Regions from separate parts of the Homo sapiens genome. Here region 2 is linked to region 1. Evidence: promoter capture Hi-C in 16 types of primary human blood cells and fetal thymus (Javierre and others, 2016). All regions are on one chromosome and are shown on one strand. The core of a region is centred on a gene start or on the middle of the fragment in contact, and the rest is flanking DNA. Distances in the headings are between cores, read along the strand shown. Region 1 holds the start of COMMD9 (COMM domain containing 9). Region 2 overlaps TRIM44 (tripartite motif containing 44).

Evidence for each region. The method cuts DNA at HindIII sites, captures the fragments that hold promoters and counts their contacts. A CHiCAGO score of 5 or more calls a contact.
Region 2: a contact is called between a fragment that was not itself captured here and the fragment with the promoter of COMMD9 in region 1, in 10 of 17 cell types (naive CD8 T cells, naive CD4 T cells, naive B cells and 7 more). The highest score is 12.5, in naive CD8 T cells.

Annotation. Positions count from the first base shown.
Region 1 is chr11:36,286,372-36,292,155 of GRCh38, forward strand. It overlaps COMMD9 (COMM domain containing 9), which reads right to left and starts at 3,053. Exons shown (of 6, transcript NM_014186.4): 1 at 2,991-3,053. The coding sequence starts at 3,041. RefSeq lists enhancers at 2,415-3,117, 2,954-3,203. The HindIII fragment of the contact is 8,947 bases long and covers 1-3,370 here.
Region 2 is chr11:35,683,956-35,689,739 of GRCh38, forward strand. TRIM44 (tripartite motif containing 44) reads left to right here. Exons shown (of 5, transcript NM_017583.6): 2 at 1,304-1,381. Among named protein-coding and RNA genes, the nearest start is that of TRIM44, 24 kb to the left of the region's middle. The HindIII fragment of the contact is 210 bases long and covers 3,526-3,735 here.

The DNA of each region.
Region 1 (5,784 bases), core at 1,803-4,302:
AAACCCTGTCTCTACTAAAAATACAAAAAAAAAAAAAAAAAAGAAAGAAAGAAAGAAAGAAAGAAAAGAAAAAAAAAATCAGCCTGGAGGGGTGGTGGGCACCTGTAGTCCTAGCTACTTGGTAGACTGAGGCATGAGAATCCCTTGAACCCAGGAGGTGGAAGTTGCAGTGAGCTGAGATCATGCCACTGAACTGTAGCCTGGGCCACAGAGCGAGACTCTCTCAAAACAAACAAACAAACAAACAAACCAAAAAAAACCAAAACCATTTGCAATTGCTCAAAAAATGAAATACAGGATGTGCATGCTGAAAACTACACAGTACAACACTGTTGGACAATCATTACATGGAATACCACTCAGCAATAAAAAGGAAAGAACTATTGATACACACAACATGGATGAAAATTAGGCTGAGTGAAAAAAGTCAATCTCAGAAGGTTACTTACTGTATTATTCCATTTATACGGCATTCTTGAAATGACAAAATTAGAGAAATGAATAACGCCAAAGGTTAAGGAGAGTGTGGCTATTCATGAGGAATCTTTGTGGTGGTGGAAATGTTTTGTATTTTGACTGTCAATATCAATACTTTTGACATTAGGTATTGACATCCATTTATCCTTTACCCAATTTCCCCTATGCAGAACCATACATAATAGTAAGTATGCTATATATGTATACTACATACTATGTATATCGCGTAGTATGTATACTACATACTATGTATATCGCGTAGTATGTATACTACATACTATGTATATCGCGTAGTATGTATACTACATACTATGTATATCGCGTAGTATGTATACTACATACTATGTATATCGCGTAGTATGTATACTACATACTATGTATATCGCGTAGTATGTATACTACATACTATGTATATCGCGTAGTATGTATACTACATACTATGTATATCGCGTAGTATGTATACTACATACTATGTATATCGCGTAGTATGTATACTACATACTATGTATATCGCGTAGTATGTATACTACATACTATGTATATCGCGTAGTATGTATACTACATACTATGTATATCGTGTAGTATGTATACTCTATATTATATACATACTATACATAATAGTATATATACTATATTATGTATAGTTCCGCAGAATCCTGCAGAACTGAGGGAAACTGAGTAAAGGATAAATGGGATCTCTCTATATTATTTCTTACAACTACATATGGATTTATAATTATCTCATAATAAAAAGTCTAAGTATTTTTTTAAAAAAAGAAAAGAAAGTACACAGGACAGTAGCAATGAAAATCAATGAACTACTGCTACATAATGGTGAGCAAAAGAAGCCAGGCATAAAAAAAAAGTATATGCTGTATTATTCCATTTATGTTAAGTTCAAACATGGGCAATATTAAATGAATTGTATCAGAAGCAAACATAGAGGTTACCATTGGGGAAGAAAGTGAGGAAGCAAAGAAAGGGCGAAAGGGGGACTTCTGGGGTACTGGTAACATTTCATTTTTTGACTTTGGTGGTGGTTACATTGGTGTGTAATAAATCATTTAACTGTAAATGTATGGTTTATGCACTTTTCTGTATGTATACTACACACTAATCTTTTAAAGTTTTTAAAAGAAAAGAGTGCATAAGACCAACAGGTATAGGGGCGGGGGTAGGTACAGAGCAGCCAAAATGAAGGTGAAAAGGCACTGGGTTGGGAGCTGAGAGCCCTAGATTGCCAGTCCCAGCTCTGTTACTTCATTTATTAATTCATTTAACAGCTATTTACTGAGCACGTGCTGTGTGCCAGGTATTATTGTTCTACTTATTGGGCATTAACACTTGTGAACAAAAGAGTAGATCCCCTTAGGAGTGGAGAATGCTAATGAACACTGAGAAGGCAATTAAAAAATAAATAAGTAAAACAAAACAGAGACTATTACATGGACCGATGATGATGATGTGCCATAAATTGAGGAGAGTAACTCAACCCTCTTCACCTGGTGTTTAAAAAAAAAAAAAAAGAGAGAGGAAGAAAGGAAAGGTCCCTGATGGATCTTACATTCTTATGAGACAGACGGACAACGGGCAAATAGCTAGCGACAAGTTCTACGAAGGAAAATAAAGCTGCCCTTTCTCCTACAGGGCAAATCATAAGTTAAATAATTCCGGCCAGGCGCGGTGGCTCACGCCTGTAATCCCAACACTTTGGAAGGCGGAGGCGAGTGGATCACGCGGTCAGGAGTTCAAGACCAGCCTGGCCAAGATGTTGAAACCCCGTCTCTACTAAAAATACATAAATTTGCCAGGCTTGGTGGCGGGCGCCTGTAATCCCAGCTACTCGGAAGGCTGAGGCATAGAATTGCTTGAACTCGGGGGGCGGAGGTTGCAGTGAGCCGAGATTGCGCCACTGCTCTCCAGCCTGGACAACAGAGCTAGACTCCGTCTCAAATAATAATAATACTTCATTTGAGCTTTACAAAGCCCTATGAAGTAGGTCCCTTTCAACCTCACAACTTTTCAAATGATTATCAGGAGTATGTCCTGCCCCTTTCGCAGGTCAAAGAGAGTAGGGAAAATCTGGACCTCAAGGGAACATTGAACGCACAGGTCATTCGGAGGGCTGGGCAGACGCAGTAGGAGATAATTTCTTAATTGTGCAATGCAGGAGGGGCTACGGGATGAAATGGGGAACTGACAACGTGGGTCTAGCAATTACCACTTCAATGCACCAATACCGAAAACCAATCCCAAAGACTAATAGCAGGAGGTTGTACTGCGCCTTCATGCCCATTATTTTATTTTTTTTTATCTTACGTTCCTGTCAAAACGATATTTTGTTCTTACTTTTTAAAAGCTCAGAAAGACGCAACGATTTGCCTGGGATCACACAGAGAACAAGCAGCAGAGTTGTGGCTCCAAACCAGGGTCAATTTGTTCCCAATTCCTGCTCCGTCTAAAGTCTCGGAGACAAAGGGCCACCTCACGCTGTCCCCACCCCTTCGACTTACCTTGAGCAGGCTCTGGAGTGCTGCAAAATGCTCCGCTGTCAGGGCAGCCATCTTGCCGAAGTCACATGACCGTGGCACCCAGGGAAGCGAGGTCACGTGGCTGTCGCTGTTGTCGCGGGGCCTGCCGGGGGCTGTAGTCCTTCAGAGTGGGGGAAGGCGTTTCGGTTGTGGTGCTGCGGCAGTGAGCGCGGATCAAGACGGACGCGGCGGCTGGATGACTAAACCCCGAGACTCTAGAACCAAAGGACTAGGGGGACCAGGGCGGAGGATGGTTTACTCGGGGAGGAAATTGGCTTGACTTGTCTACTTACCAAGTCAGGGAAACAGGTTTTCCCTTGACCCATGTGGGTGGGCTGGCGCACTTGGGGAATGCACCTGCAAGCTTGGCAGGCGCCTTGGAAACGTAGTTGTTCAGGAGTGATCGGCGTACCAGTGTTTGGAATGAAAATGAGGCTGTGCATATCGGGCTTCTTGGAATTGACACACACACATGCACACATCCTGTCTTGAATGTAAAATTACTTCTGCGTATATAGTTTTTCAGCCTATGTAGTAGGTTGGAGCTGGTATTATTAGTATTATCCAGATTGGGAAATAATCATTTAGGGTTTTTAGTAACTTTCCCATAGTCATAGAGAAGATCTGATTACAAGAGCAGGTGAGGAAGTGTTTGGGAGAGGGGACAAGAGAGGAATGGAATGAAAGCTACTACCTAGCTAGGTTCTTGTTATACGGGGGTGAGATGGGGGAGGAGGTTAATGGAAATGATTTAGTTCATTTATTCAAAAAGGTAATTATAATGAATATAATTGTAAAGAGTGATTTTGCACTGGCAGTACTGGACTCTGATTTGCCCTGTTCTCAGAGACCGTACATCAAAACAGACATTTCCTTTATCTACCTTTAGTATTTGGGTGGCTCTTTTCTTTTCCTACCCTCCACTTTTTTTTAAGCAAATTCCAGCTCAAAAAATGGGTTCTGATATATTCGAGCTTAAGAAAGAATGCCCATTTGTGAAATTCCAGAAATTGGTAAGCTGCTAAGGACATTTGTTCCTTTGTCTCCTCTCCTCCCCCTTCCCCTTCCCCGACTCCATTTTCTGTGGGGATGTTGTCAAGGCCCAGGAAACCAAAAATCAAATTGTCTAAGGAGGAACCCATTCCTGGATTAGAAGATTTTAGAACCATTTTGTCACAGGGTCCTGATTCTAGCTCTCTTTCTTGGCCTCTCTTTTCCATGAACCCTCATGGCCTGATTCCTGGTTTCTGTTATAACTCAATGTAGGTTCTAGGTTTAACTCCTGCCTGTATCTATAGGGCTGGGCCCATTGTCTTGGGTTAATTGAATATTTGTTAAATAAACAACCACCCAAAAAAGTGATTAGACTAAGATGAAATTTTGTGACTTATTTGAGGATATTGCCTTGGTATTTGCAGGATTGTGCCTTCTTGTCTTACTTTAGAGTAATGAGGAGTGTGGTCACCAGCCTTCAAGATGGCCCTCAATGATCCCAGCCTCCTGGTGTTCACAACCTAGTGTAGACACCTCCCACCATGTACCAGGATTGGTATGCATGACCAATAGCAAATGGTGGGTGTGAATGGCATATCACTTCTGAGATTAGGTTATACAAGACTGCACCAAAAAACTAACAAAAAGACTGAAGTTCCTGTCTCCTGGCTTGGGTGCTCTCTCATGTGCCCTGCTCTCTTTCACTTGAATCCTTTGCTCTGGGGAAAGCAAACTGCCATGTTGTAAACAGTCCTACAGAGAGGCCTAGGTGACAAGGAACTGAAGCATCTGGCCAACAACTTCATTACTGACCTGAGAAGCAGATTGTCTAGGCCCAGTAGAGCCTTAAGAAGGCAGGAGTCTTGGCCAACAGCTTAACTGCAACCTCATGAGAGATTCTGAGCCAGCACCACCCAGCGAAGCCACGCCTGGATTTCTGGCCTTCAAACACTATTAAGATTATCAATGTTTGTTGTTTTAAGCTATGAAGCTTTGAAGTAATTTGTTATACAGCAATAGTAACTAATGCATGGTGGCAGCAAAGCATAGGGGTTTTAGAATTCAACCTGAGTTGGAATCCTAATTCTACACATTATTAACTTTTCCGTGTACAAATTCTTGAACTTCTCTGGGCCTCAGTTTCCACCTCTGTAAAATGGTGTTCATCACACCCATCTAGTTCAGAGAGCAGAGCTGAGCGACAGGAGCTGCTTCAGTGGGAGGATTCCCAGCTCTCCTTACTCTCGCGGGCTGGTATGATATGAATGGCACCATGTCATCCCATTTTGGTAGGGCTGCCCAGATTGCCAATGCCATGTTGCATGTAAAGGTTTGTCTGTGGTCTGCAGAATGTCCAGCAATTTCTAAACCATAAACATTTTCATGGGTGGGAACAAAACAGAATGTCGGAGTTCATTTCTGTGATTTGGTCCCATTGCCTGGTTTTCATTAGGCCAAACCTAATTTCTTTCCAATTCTGAATATAGGAATCAGTGCTGACTTTCATTTATTTAATAAACTTGTTATGTGCCCGGCTCTGTTCTAAGCCCTTACATTTACTGATTAATTTACTTCCCATTCCTATCCTATGATATTATATATATACGTATGTATATACATACACACACATATGTACACACACACATAAGTACATATACATATATAAGCACACACACTGTATTGTTTCCATTTTACATATGGAGAAACAGACATAGGCAGATTAAGTAGTCTGAGGTCACACAGCTAAGTAGTGGCAAAGCCCAGATTCAAATATGGCCAGTCT
Region 2 (5,784 bases), core at 2,381-4,880, 600 kb before region 1:
CAGGCTCTGTTCTGAGTACCTTGACATACATTAACTAATTTAATCTTACTGCAGTCCTATGAAATAGATAGTTATTGGCTCTATTTTACAGATAAAGAAATTGAGACAGAGAGAGGGTAAGTAACTTGCCTAAGGTCACACAGCTAGTGTGTGACTAATGGCACTAGGGCTCTAGTCTGTGCTCTAAATCTGTACTGACCAATATAGTAGTCACTAGTCACATGTGGCTTTGGAGCACTTGTAATGTGGCTGGTTTAAATTGATTGGGCTGTAATTGTGAAATACTAGATTTCAAAGACCTAGCATAAAAAAAAATCTCATGTTGAAATTGCATGTTGTAATGATATTTTGAATATACTGAGTTAAGTAAAATACATCAAAATCAATTTTACTTTTTAATTGTGGCAGTTATAAAATTATATACATACGCTTGCATTTGGGACTCACATTAGTCTTTTATTGTACTGTGCTATTCTAAATCATTATACTGTAATAATAGTAATAGCATATGAAATTTTTGAGCACTCACTGTGTGCCACATACTGTGCTAATATCTTTTAAAACACTTTCAGTTAGGCCCCAAAATAGCCCAGTTTATTATCACTATTTTATAGAAGGGGGAGAAGGTTTTGAGACATTTAGTAATTTGCCTGAAATTAATCAACTAGTTAATGGCAAATCCAAAATTGGAACTGTATATGTCTGACTCAAAAACCTGTGAGTTTTATGGGTTTTTTTGGTGTTGAACTCCTGGCCTCAAGCAATGCTCCTGCCTCAGCCTCCTGAGTAGCTGAAATTACAGGTGCAAGCTACCACACCCAGTTAAAAAACCTGTGTTCTTAATCAGCACACTACAGTTCCATTCATAATTAAATTTCAGACTATTTTCTTTGTTTTAATTTTTATAAGTATATTTAATATTGCATACTTCTATATCTGATGCATAAAGGTTCAAAATAAAAATTACCAGTCTGTAAAATAGACATCTTGTATGGAACTGTCTTTTGTAGAGCTTCAGTGAACACCAGCACAGTTGAGCCTGAGATGAAGCAGTGAGTCAGCCTATACAAATTGTATTTAATTTTCATTCCATATAGTTGTGCCAGTCACTGGGCAATTTATGTCCTGACACTCTTTGTCCATAGAGAAGGGAAAGAGGGGCAATGCACCTCTCCTTTGTTGTTTAGCTCTCTTGGCTGTTAAGAAAAAATTGCTTTCTATTTCATTGTCTTCCAAAATGCTGTTTGTGTTTGAGAGAGCAACAAAATGCTGTCTAGTGACCCCTCACTTTTCTTTCTTCTAGAGCAAAGACTCAGGTGGACTGAAGGCCGCTATGATCGAATTGGTGGAAAGGTTGAAGTTCAAGAGCTCAGACCCTAAAGTAAGTATTGTTTGGAATTGATTGGGTGTTGGTACCCCAAGCATTTCATTCTCCTTGAGCTAAAATTGTGAGGTGTTGATGATCATCTCTCTGAATATTGCATTAAGATTTAATTAAGCCTGCCCATCAGAAACAGTGTCCTGATATGCCTAGAGATAAGTCATCTATTTTTCTCCTTCTCTATTTTATGACTTACAACACATAATCATTCATTGTTTTCCCTGAACTGCAGACAGGTGCATTTTTAATCCTCCTTTACCAGGGGTCTTTGAATCTTTGGTCCTCTGTGTCCATTAGATGCAGCCAAAGGCGTCTGAGAGAAATACAGATCATCTTTTTTTTTTTGAGACAGAGTCTCGCTCTGTTGCCCAGGCTGGAGTGCAGTGGCGCAATCTTGGCTCACTACAGCCTCCGCCTGCCGGGTCCAAGCCATTCTCCTGCCTCAGCCTCCTGAGTAGCTGGGATTACAGGCCTGCGCCACCATGCCCTGCTAATTTTTGTATTTTTAGTAGAGACGGGGTTTCACCATGTTGGTCAGGCTGGTCTCGAACTCCTGACCTCGTGATCCGCCCTCCTCGTCCTCCCAAAGTGCTGGGACTACAGGTGTGAGCCACCGCACCAGCTGAGAAATACAGATCATCTTAATGCCAGGGACTGGCATGGGATCCAGACTCATCTAGTTGGTGTTCAGCACTAGCGTCTTATCTCTCCACTGCTTCCAGGAGCCAGCTGCCACTCAGAATACTTTTTTCCTCATGACCTGAAGTCTGGTTTGGAAACTGGTTTAAGTGTCCCGGCTTTTTTTTTTTATTTCAATATGTTAGGGTCTAGAGGATTGATATTCTGGGAGACACCATAACGGGGTGGAGGTAAACGGAACTGAACAGACTTCCTTCTCCTTCCTACCCAGACACTTACTGTGGCACTACCTGGTATTGGGGCCAGCTGGCTTTGCCTTAGAATCAAAGTTTCTCACAATTAAATAGGGAAAGGCGCATGATTTTATTTTACTGTAGGTTCTTTTTGTTTTTGTTTTTGTTTTTTTTTTTTTTAAGAGGAATGGGACTAGCATTTCTTGAGTATCTACTGAGAGTCAGGCACTTTGCTAGGACTCTTACATGATTGTACTAAAATATACATACAAAATTTTAACCATTTTTGAGTGTACAGTTCAATGGCATTAAGTACATTCACTTTGGTTTTTTGTTTGTTTGTTTGTTTTTGTTTTTTGTTTTTTTGAGACGGAATCTCGCTCTGATGCCCAGGTTGGAGTGCAGTGGCATGATCTCGGCTCAGTGCAACCTCTCCCTCCCAGGTTCAAGTGATTCTCCTGCCTCAGCCGCCTGAGTGGCTGAGACTACAGGCACATGCCACCACACCCAGCTAACTTTTTGTGTTTTTACTAGCGACAGAGTTTCACCATGTTGGCCAGGCTGGTTTCGAACTCCTGACCTCAAGTGATCTGCCCGCCTCAGTCTCCCAAAGTGCTGGGATTATGGGCGTGAGCCACCACACCTGGCCACACTTTGTTGTGCAGCCATCATCACTGTCCATCTCTAGAGCTTTTTTACTATCCCAAACTGAAATTCGGTACCCATTAAATGCTAACTTCTCATTCCTGCTCTCCCCTTAAATACTTTTAATTATTTAACAACACTGTAAAGTAGCATTTTCTTCCTACTTTATTGATAAGAACACTGAGGTTTAGAAAGGTAGAATCATCTGCCCAAATCTAATGTAATATAGATGTGGAATTCAAACTCTGACTCCAGTGCCTATACTCTTTATCTTATGTCATGCAAACCAAGCACTGGATTTTATCTCCTTTCTGCCACATGATCACATTGTGCTGCAGTTTTCTAAATTGAAACACAATATGTGGCAGAGCCATAGACTGGTGGGCTCTTCAAAAGGTGGCTGCAGCCACAAGAATAAATTTCTCTTCATATGGCAATGAAAATATCGGGGACATTGGTAAGATCTCTTGTCTTCTGGTGTAGTCAGGGTTCCAGAAGTAGAGAGTTAGGTTGGTAGATAGAAAAAATTAGAGTAACCTTTATCAACTTTCCTAGCTCAAAGTAGGAGGACCCCTGATAAAAGTTTTTCCTTTAGCTAGGATGAACCACTTATTAAAAGTTACTGAAAGCTTTTCTTACCAAGTTTCTCTGGTTTCTGGAGCAACTCCTGTTCTGCAGGAGACAACCATATTCTGATTCCGCCAAACTTATAATTAGCAGTGCAGTGAAGAGGGAGCGGATGTGTACAAATCACACTGAGTGTTCTCTGTGTATGACTATAATACAGGTAAAGTGCTTTGGGATCCTTTATGAATGCATGTAGTGCTTCTGATGGAAAGCTTGCCAGAAAGTGAAAGGTTTGAGCGGTTGCATGAGAGGAATCCCTGGAAGTGTCAGGGTTTTCTCTTGATGCATCATAAGGTAAAGGATATTTGTAAGGACCCGACTTGATCTTGGGTGTGTGTGTATACCTGCACCTCTTTTTTACGTTCTTTTTATTTTGCCCTGGATCATTTACTACCAACCTATTTTATTTTCAAGCCCCTTTTTAGTCTACCACAACCATATGCTGTATATACTTGGAGCCAGCTTGAAGAAGGGTGAACGTAATTGCAGAATGACTGCCAGGTCAGGAATGGGGGTAAAAAACAGGCCACTTAAATATATAATTTCTGCACAAAGAAGATTTTCCTAGAAATAAATTGGCATCTTCCAAGACAACCCTTAAGTTTTTGTCTGTTCTGTTTTCCCACAGAGCCCCACCATCCCCTTTTTGAGTTGGCCTATTTAAGAAGGGCAGAAATCTCTTAGGCTTTGTGACCTGTCATTTCCTGGGCACAGAGGCTTTACATAGAAGCACTGATTGAGTCATGGAGGACTGAGCACTATCTCTGCCTCACTTCCTCTAGAATTCCCTAAAGCATCACAAAGCTTGATTAGTCCAGACACTGAAGCCTATTGGGGAATGAGTTAATTTTTACCTCTTGAGTTTTGCTAGAGAGCAGTAGAAGATGTCTAAATTAATCATTTTTTTAAAATTATAAAATAATACATACTTATAGATTTAAAAATACAGATATTCATAAAGAAAAAGTAAAATCTCCCCTAAGTTAGCCACTGTTAACAGTTTAGTATGTAACCTTCTAGACATTTTTCTATGTAGTACCTTTTCAAAATTCTTTTACAAAATTATACCCATGGTTTTACAATTGCTTTTTCCTTTATGTGGAATATCTTAGATATTCTTCTGTGTCAAAAATATAGACTTGATTCTGTTTAATGAGATGCCTCATTTTATTCAAAACATTTGTCAGACATCTTCTTTTCTTCCAGACCCAGAGGTTCTTAAACTTCAGTGTACATGAAAATCACCCAGAAGACGTATTAAAATATAGAGTGCTGTGCCCACCTCCAGAGTTTTTTATTCAATTGGCCTGGGGTGGCTAGACAATGTTCATTTCTATGAAATTATCAGGTGATGCTGATGTTGCTGTTTCAAGTACCACACTTTGAGAACCTCTGTGCTGTACCTTAGCTGTTTTCCTCTATGTTTGCTAATGATTTTTTTTCACTTCTTTGAACAAGTAGAAGAGCCCCTAGAAATAAGTCCAGGTGATTTCAACTTTGGAAAAAAGGTAGATAAAAATCTAGGCTTATGAAACAAGTTGAGCAGAGGTAGGAAAGGAGTAGGGAGGGGAAAAAGAGGTGGGTTAGGAAGTCAGCTTAGGCTAAAAGGACGGGACTGCTTTACACTGTCACTTCCAACAGAGAATTAGCAAAGCCAAAAAGAGGGAAAGGGATCCTGGTCGGGATTTAGGAGGATGATCAAAGCTCCCTGCCATGGTTGAGGTGTAGGCTGAGTTCTAAAACCAGAGGAAAATCAGGAACAACCAGCCATTATGGGTGAGCCTTAGGAGAGGAATCAGAGCCAGTGATGGTTAAGAAATAGGGTACAAGACCGAATGAAGTTTTGTGCATGGATGTTGCTGTGGTGAGCCCTGTTTTAAAGGGTACATACCTCTGGGCATCTAGAACCCTCTATATCGTGGAAGAAGATTACTTTTAATAACAAACAATCTTTAGTTTGTCAAAACGATTAGTAGGAAATGGTCTTTTACATAATACGCTGTCCTAATGTGTTTGACTTGGTTTAGTTTGCAAACTTTTTTTTCTCCAGCCAAACTTTTCTGAAACACCTATTGCACAAGCAGGATTCTTATCTGTAGATTGAGTACATTTATGGTAGGCTTTAGGGAAATTTTAAAATGTAATCAGTCAGGGGTATGTGTGTATATGTGTGTCTGTACTTGGATTTTTAAGAAATTTAGAGCTTTTTTATTTCTTTATCTTCACAGCTTTCCTTTGTAGTGACTATGCAGTTATCTT